3 separate regions of the Homo sapiens genome follow, and regions 2 and 3 are each linked to region 1. Evidence: promoter capture Hi-C in 16 types of primary human blood cells and fetal thymus (Javierre and others, 2016). All regions are on one chromosome and are shown on one strand. The core of a region is centred on a gene start or on the middle of the fragment in contact, and the rest is flanking DNA. Distances in the headings are between cores, read along the strand shown.

Region 1 (2,700 bases), core at 60-2,559:
CTAAAAGTGAGAAAAGAAATTTTAAAGATAAACAGACATATTTTTTAGGATTGAGTTGGGCTTTTGTTTTGCTTTGTTTCATTTCTTCCTGTAAACAAATACTCAGATGTCCATTTCATTGTATGACTAAGTTGGTATCATTAGGTTGGAACTGGGTGTGTGTATGTGGGTGTGTGTGTGGGTGGATGTGTGTGCACACGTGTATTTAAAATGTTAGAAAAGACATTGCAGGTCGAAGGAGAAATGATTTTAAAAAAACCTACCTATGGTAAGGCAAGCAGGAAAAATGGAAGACCTGGATTTCAATGATCTAAATAATAATTGAAATGGGGTGTTTGCTATAAACATTGTTTCTCTGAATTAAAGGATTCCTTGCTGAAGGCACAAGACCATTGAAGGAAGTAAAGCATCTGGTTTGTTTTGTAATGAGAAGCAGGAATGCAAGGTCCACGCTCTTAATAATAAACAAACAGGACATTGTATGCCATCATCACAGGATGTCCTTCCTTCAACAGAGGACTGACTGGGCTGGAGGAAAAGCTGGCCGGGGCTCAGAATAAGCCCCACTAATTACTGCCTCCGACCGCTTTCCACTTGCAGTGATCAGTTCAATATTCCTCTGAACTGTGAAACGACTAATGCTCTACATTTTACTTACACTCCTGGGAAGTCAGCCTGTGGGTTCTGGGAGGAGAGGAAAGGAAAACAAACAATCTGTAGAATTATAACTTTTGCCTATTTCCCTATTTACTAAATAGTTAAAAGAGGAAAGTTAGTTCTGCCAAGTTTGAACGTTAGCAGGAGAAACGGAATGTTACAACTTTTGGGGCGGGGGGCGGGGAAACGTGCGTTACATACACAACAGCTTGAGGACCAGACAGCTCCACTGTATTACACTAGCTGCAAAAACAATTTAACTTGCTCTTTTGAAGTAAGATTTGTGTCTTTTGTACCTGGGGATTTGAGCTGAGAAATCAGAAACTGTGTAGGTAAATTTTAAGTTTCCTTAATTTAAGGAACGTGCGCCCCCTAATTCTGCCGCGCCAGGAAGGAGGGCGATCTGGAGTGTTTAGAATACAATAGAGCCCAAGTAAGCGTTGAGGTTAAGTGCCTTCAAAGGGAAGTAAGAAGATTCCAAGTCAATGTTGAAATACACATGCGAAGAGAGGAAGCTCTCGGCGGCTGTGCTAGCAATCTGGGGGAAAGCCCTGGGCTCGGCCAGGTGGTGTTGGCCACGTTGGCCACGCCCCCACTTCGCGCAGCCGAGTGGCTAAGGAAATCTTAAGCAGGGAGGGGAAGCCAGACGGTTAACACAGACAAAGTGCTGCCGTGACACTCGGCCCTCCAGTGTTGCGGAGAGGCAAGAGCAGCGACCGCGGCACCTGTCCGCCCGGAGCTGGGACGCGGGCGCCCGGGCGGCCGGACGAAGCGAGGAGGGACCGCCGAGGTGCGCGTCTGTGCGGCTCAGCCTGGCGGGGGACGCGGGGAGAATGTGGACTGGGTAGAGATGAACGAGACTTTTCTCAGATGTTGGATATTTGCTTGGAAAAACGTGTGGGTACGACCTTGGTAAGGAACTTGAATTTTTTTTTTTTAATTCTGAAATTGATCTGAAAACTTTATTTTCTTTTCCTTTATTGTTATTATTATTAATTTTTTTTGGCTAATGTCGCAGTAGAAACATGCTTCTGCTTTAGTGCACTTAGTGCTGTCAAACATTTGTGAGACTTTCCTTATGAATCATTAACCCTTTCAGTTCTAGACATAATTGCCAATTCATTGAAATTTCAGTAGTGGTTCCAGCTCACACTCGTCAAACTATTCCGGGTTGGCTGAAGTTTTCTATTTTATTTTATTTTTAACATGTGTTTGGCGTCATGACTCTACATGTTGGAACTAAATAAAAATAAGCAGGTTTGCTTAAATCATAACTGAGGGAAAAACAACTTTGCATCCAACTTTTTTTTTTTTAAGAGCATCCTATTTAGAGAAGTGGAAGAATGTAAAAACCTCCTTGAAGGACTTCCACAGAATGTTATGTTTACATTTGAACAAACACACATTCTTACATGGAAATGATACCCATATTCCTCATTTTTATCAAACATGTCTATATGAGAAAACCCTTACAGAAGTTGTTTACCTTTTTTTGCCTTTGGAAAACAGTTTTTTTCTGAGTGTGAGGGAGGATTTTGGGGGAATATCCTCATCAATGTACAAGTGGAAGCAGAGCTTGTCCTCCAAGTCTTCTAAATTTGTTATAACTTTAGTTACAGTAAACTGTAGTACATCAGTGACTTCTGGGAATTCATACACTTTCAGATTTAAATGGAAAGTGCTATTTGTAGCTGAGGACTCCTAAAGGAATTCTCTCCAGGGAATTTTATTAAACGGTTTTATGTTTTGTTTTTGCCTTTTCAATTTGGTATGAGATGCTTGCAAGTCAGAAGACACTGCAGGCTGTTTTCCCCTTCACCCATTTTTCCTCCTCTTTTCCTGTGGTCCAAGTGATTTCTAAGAGGCCGTAGCTCAGTGATGCTGGCAGGATGCAACCCTTTTCAGTCTTCCATGTGAGAGGATGAAAGAGAGCTCGCAGCAGAGGGAGGAGGCAGTTGTTTTGAAAGTTGTTTTGCGTTGGGAGCTGGTGGGAAAGTTCGGTCTTCCCCATTTGGAAAAGGCAGGCTGGGTTCCGCTCCTGCA
Region 2 (2,799 bases), core at 49-2,548, 140 kb before region 1:
TCTCTTCCCTTTGAGGTTCAAAATCATGAGTACTCCTTTGATGGCCTGTTACCGTCTCAACTGGCCCCAAAGGGGAGCTCACCATAAGGGAGGAGGTACCTAGACTGATAACCCCAGGCTCACCACTGGATCTATGGGTATTTGAGGAGAAGATGGTTTTAAAACTGCTTTTGGAAGCTCGTCCTGATCCTCCAAATTTTAATTTCCAAGGCTCTGACTCGATAAACTGTATAAACACTAAATAACTGAGTTTAAAATTAAAAAAAAAAAGTATTTTAATCTTTCCCACACGGACTCCTTCCTAGTTCTACTCACAGACAGACACATGCATAGACAGCTGATTGAAGTTGAAGGAAGGCAAAATAAATTGTACCAACAATGAAACATTTTAACCTAAATGAAAAAATTAGTTTTCAAAAGATTAAAATTAGTCCAAACCATTTTTAAGACTAATTTGCCAATGTGCTGTTAATAAAGTTATTATATTTATTCCTAAAATAAGCAACTATGCAAGGCAGGAAGACAGAACATGAAGGATTTCTCCTGGCCGATCTGAACCAGGTATCAAGAAAGAAAACCATGCCTCTTTTTGAAATACAATTTATAGAGTAACAAAATATGGATGTGAGGGAAGGGTGAGATCCCTTTTCTTTCCCAAATTGTCCTAGTGTTGACATTAAGAAGATTAACATGTGATTCTAAGTGACCCTAGGATCCACTTATTTGTCATCTTGGAAACAATAGTTTAACAGTTTTCAAAATAACTGAACAATGTAAACAAACAGCTTCTTTGACTAATCTGGGATCTGCTGCTGCCATAAAGTCGCCTTCAGGACATTTTCAAAAAGAGTTTGGGGGGTTTTTTTGTTTTGTTTTGTTTTATCTCTTTACAGTGTGAAAAGCCTTGCCTGAAAATTGACTAATGTGTAAAAGGAAGCCATCATTCACGCTAATGAGGTCCTTCAACAGGTCCTTCTCCCAGTGCTCCAAGCTGCCCTAGAGCTGAAATGTGAGGCTTCTTTAACCTGGAGCTGGCTGAAAGAATTTCACTACCCTCCCCAGGCATTCAACATAGGCTTCTTTCTAGTACATTTTCTTCAGGTTTTTCATTCACACACTAATCACTAAAATAAAGCACTCCATTTCTAAGTACCTGAAAGGTGCTGACATATGCACACCTCAGATGAATGGGGTGTTTAATCCTCCCATCCACGGCTCCACCTGCACAAAAAACAAAAAACAGCCATGTGCAGTGCATTGGCACCATCCATCTTGTACTCCAAATGTCTCCCTCAGTTCGTTTTCTCTTTCCTTCATCCATCCACCCCAACCACTGGCACATGTACAAAATTTGAATCACATCCAAACCTGAACCAATAAAACTAAGAGGCTCAATATTTTTATTTATCTACGATTATTTCTAAAGCCTGGAAAATTTTGAGTTTACATAAATTCAGAGAAGGAAAATTCTCCATAACCACAGACAGGTTTCATAATCACTCCAAGGAAATGACAAGTTCTTCTTGGGAACAATTCCTTTTGCTTTCTGAAATTTGAGGTGAGAAATTTCATTTGTTTTTCACTGAACTGCAAAAAAATGAATGATGTCATTCTTATACCATGGGAACTGGTACTATAAGTTCTATCAAGAGACATAGTTCTCATTTCCAACATAGATGACTAAATTATGTGTAGGGCTAGTGAGAAAAAGGAGAGGGAGGGTGAAAGCCACATTACTGTTATTGCTTGTTCAGAACCGTATATATTCCCACATTTCTCCCTTCCAGTGTTTTCTTGCTTAAAGGATTAAGGGAATATTTGGGACTTTTCTCTTTGTCTCATTTCCCCTCATTTTCAAGCTGCCAGCTAGTTTTCTAGATGGGTACTGAACAAGAGTCATCTGAGTACTGAAATAAAAGTTCCACCTCCTAAACCGCATTTGTAACAGGGATTGGGTCCAAAGAGATATCTCAGAAAACTGTACCAACCATGTGGTAAAATACCTGCTTCAGAGTCTTTTGATTTACTAAGATAAGATGAGCCTTCTGAAACCTTAGAGACATTACAGTCCAGCCAGATACCTCCTCTCTCTATAAGGAAGCTAAGCACCAAAATGATGAGCTGATTTTTCCCAAGATCACATGGCTAAGTGGAGGCACAATTGAGCCAAGATCTTTTACATTTCTCTTTATTGTATAATTATAAAGGGGGCCAAGAAGACATTTATATTTATAAAATGGAATTTAAGCTAGATTTTGATGTTCAAAGAAATCCTCAAATACTGTTTTCTATTTAAAAAACTCTACCACATTTCGTCTGAAGATTATCACTTCTGTAAGACTATCCAGATCTATCTTCACATTTACTGCTAGCAAATAAATAAAAATATTCTAAAGATAATTGAGTAACTTTCAGGATAATACAATTATTACAGATGGGTACATATTATAGATATTGTCTAAGTCCTAAGAAAATATACCCAAGAAATTTGTAGGACTAGGATGCTAAGGGCAGGCACAGCAAATTTGGGACATATTAATGAAACCCAAGAAGAAGAGTAATAGGTTGCATCCAGGCCTAAATTAAATGTTAGTGATGGGTGGAATCATCCAATCCCGAAAAGGAAAAGTAGACAAAATGTGTTTGAACAAGAATGCTTTTGACAGACTTAAAACTGACTGATTTTATATCTCTTACTATGGAAAAGACCACAAGAAATAACCTACATTATAAAGGAATACATAAAAAACAAAACAAAAAAATAATAATCTGATCCCTAAAGCATTGAAAAAGTAAAAG
Region 3 (2,837 bases), core at 126-2,625, 170 kb after region 1:
CTGTATCTTCAAACTCATCTGCCTTATGAGCCAGGTCAAATTAAGAGAATCAGCCCTTGAAAATTCATCATGAACACAGAAGTAGGTGGGCCCAGTGGGCTAGCCTCTGCGTCAGGGCTGAGCAGTGCCAGTCCTGGAGGAAGTTCATCCTTCATCCTGTCCATAAACACACATCTTGGCAGAAGGTTTCTACCCAGGGAAATCTGTGGTTTCAGTGAATCACAAAAGCAATAAAATCCAAATTCCTGGACAATTGTGACCTGGACAGTAACTGTCTGAAAATTAACTGAGAGAAGACATTTACTCCTTTACCCTACAAAGTAAGTGCCACAGTCTTAGAAAATTGGCATCAAGAACAGTAATCAATATATATTTAGACTGCAATTACTTCTCTCCGTGTTCACCACTACCACTTTCACCTCTCTGAGCCAACACAATAGCCTCCTACTTGGTCACTGTCCTATGTTTATCCCCTGTGCACAGCATCCAGAAAGCTCTTTTAAAGTATAAATCATCAACGAGTAAATTTTCAAATATTTTCTAATGGGCCATAAAACATAATGCTTTATGATGCACATTAATGATATGGTTATTTTAAGTTATATACTAAAATCATTTTTAAAAATATGCAACCCACTGCATCTCCTTACTGCCTGCATCTGGGGCAGACTGCTCCCTGACCAAACTCTACATGCAGGCAACCATAAATAATGTGAGTAACAAAATACCTCTTCCCCTAGAAGCAGATTCCTACCAGGCCCATTCCACCCCCTTGGAAAGTTATTGCTGCATTTCTCTGAGATCTCACTGTCTACCTTACTAACTTACTAAGTTACTACCTACCTTACTTACTAAGCTCTAAGTCATGCTATTTTTCTTTTCGGTCCCTAGTAAATACCAAACTTGCTCCCATTTCAGTTTTAGCAGCCTAGAATCCCCACTTTCCTAATCTTTACATAACTGCTTCTCATCATTCAAGTCTCAATAGTGTTACCCCCTCAGAAAGATTTCTTTCATAATCCTAGGTAAGACAGTCCCACTTTCCAATCATTCCCTATACCATCACTCTATTTTATTCTAAATACTTATCGTTACTTCAAATTATGCAATTTACATGTTTAAGTATGTACTGTCGCTCTCCCTCAACCAAAATGTAAGTCCCATGAGGGCAAAGACTTTATCTTCAGCCCTAGAAAGTTCTACGTACTTCAGCCCTAGAAAGTTAATGTACTATGAGTATGCACATAGTACATACTCAACGAATGTTTGTTAATCACTAATAGCTAAATGAATGACTAGGCAATGGAGACAATAAAAACAAGGGAATAGCAAACAAAGTGTGGCATAGTGGAAAAAGTAGACAGTCTGGAGCCACACTGCCTGGGTTTGTTTCCCAGCTTTGTCATTTATTTAATAGTTGTGTGAGTTTTAGCAAGACACTTACTGTGCCTGACACAAATTAAGTGCTACATAAGTGTTTCCTATTATCATTATCTTTTAGGCTGCCTCAGATTCAACAAGAGAAGGCACTGAGCTTCTAGATTCTACCAGGTAAGAAGTGTCAGGACCAGTATGGAAAAGTGGCCCTGCCAAAACCCCATCATTACAGAACTGCTGGACTGTTCAGTCTGGCTCAGAGCCAGGGAGTCTGCATCACTCACATCAAATTCTATGTGAATGTTGCCTGTTGGAGTTATGCAATTGAGCAGCCTTTGCTAGCCATAATTGGGAGAATAAAAGCCCTAACACAGTATAGCTGCAATATTTACAACCAAATACCCTCTATGTCCCTTTTGCTTCCTCCAACTTTTTCAACCACCATATAAGGTTCTATCTTCTCACCCTGTGGGCACAATTTAGTTGCCATTTACCTCCCATCAATTTCACTGCATTCATCTCCAGCCATATCATGTAACGGTGGGAATAAGAATGGTGGTCCAAGAACATCTGGGCCAACATCTGAGGAGTCCTCCAGTCTTGACAAGCAAGTCTGAGTTCCAACTCTATCGCTTAAGACCTAGATAACCATTCCTTTCCAACCCCTTCTTCTTCTAACATGTCTTAATATAGTAGGGGAGAGGACATAAGCATGATGGGGGAAGGGGTTCTTGTTAATCTGAAAAGATGAGAGGTTCACAATTGCTACACCTTATTACAGCATAGCTTTATAAATGGAGTCAGTAAAAACTAGCTACCTCATGAAAACTCTGTAAATCGTTAAAAACTACTGCTTGGAAATTTAAAGAAAATTAATCTTATTAAGTATTGAGAAAAGCAGACTGTAAATTCCAATTTCAACATCACCAGCCAATAAACCATGACTGTAAGTTACAACATCTTTAAACGTATTCCAAGAGTCAATCCCAGTAACTGCCTTCATTTTTAAGTAGACAGGATTCAATTATCGTATTCTAACCAATTAAGAATAATTTATTTCAAATGTATTTTTAAGCCAGGTAATAAAAAAGATTCAAAACTCAAAAATTTCATAATGTAAAAAACAAATTATTCTGTTGTTCTATGTGCTTATATTAAAATTTCTAATAATAATGATCTTCAACTATACTCCCATTTTCCCTTCATCCATGACAATCTTTAAAGCAGCTTGTCAAAAAGAGATTTACAGAGCTACAGCACAGTGGTAGGCCAGGACTAATTATCTAAATGTATTCCTGTTACAATCATCTATAGATTTATAACCAATAACCTCCTGTTCTATTACTTTTTAAAACTACTGTATATTAAGAAAATGTTATTTCTCTTGGCCGAAATTAGTTTATTACTTTCCTAGATGCAGAGGGCCAGAAACAAATTTAATATGCAATTGAGTTCATTTT

Evidence for each region. The method cuts DNA at HindIII sites, captures the fragments that hold promoters and counts their contacts. A CHiCAGO score of 5 or more calls a contact.
Region 2: a contact is called between a fragment that was not itself captured here and the fragment with the promoter of PRDM1 in region 1, in 1 of 17 cell types (activated CD4 T cells). The highest score is 5.0, in activated CD4 T cells.
Region 3: a contact is called between a fragment that was not itself captured here and the fragment with the promoter of PRDM1 in region 1, in 1 of 17 cell types (activated CD4 T cells). The highest score is 5.4, in activated CD4 T cells.

What each region holds. Positions count from the first base shown.
Region 1 is chr6:106,085,027-106,087,726 of GRCh38, forward strand. It overlaps PRDM1 (PR/SET domain 1), which reads left to right and starts at 1,310. Exons shown (of 7, transcript NM_001198.4): 1 at 1,310-1,569. The coding sequence starts at 1,528. RefSeq lists an enhancer at 938-1,657. The HindIII fragment of the contact is 5,820 bases long and covers 1-2,700 here.
Region 2 is chr6:105,940,209-105,943,007 of GRCh38, forward strand. No RefSeq gene overlaps it. Among named protein-coding and RNA genes, the nearest start is that of PRDM1, 140 kb to the right of the region's middle. The HindIII fragment of the contact is 6,159 bases long and covers 1-2,799 here.
Region 3 is chr6:106,253,206-106,256,042 of GRCh38, forward strand. All of the region lies in intron 5 of ATG5 (autophagy related 5), which reads right to left. Among named protein-coding and RNA genes, the nearest start is that of ATG5, 71 kb to the right of the region's middle. The HindIII fragment of the contact is 3,373 bases long and covers 1-2,837 here.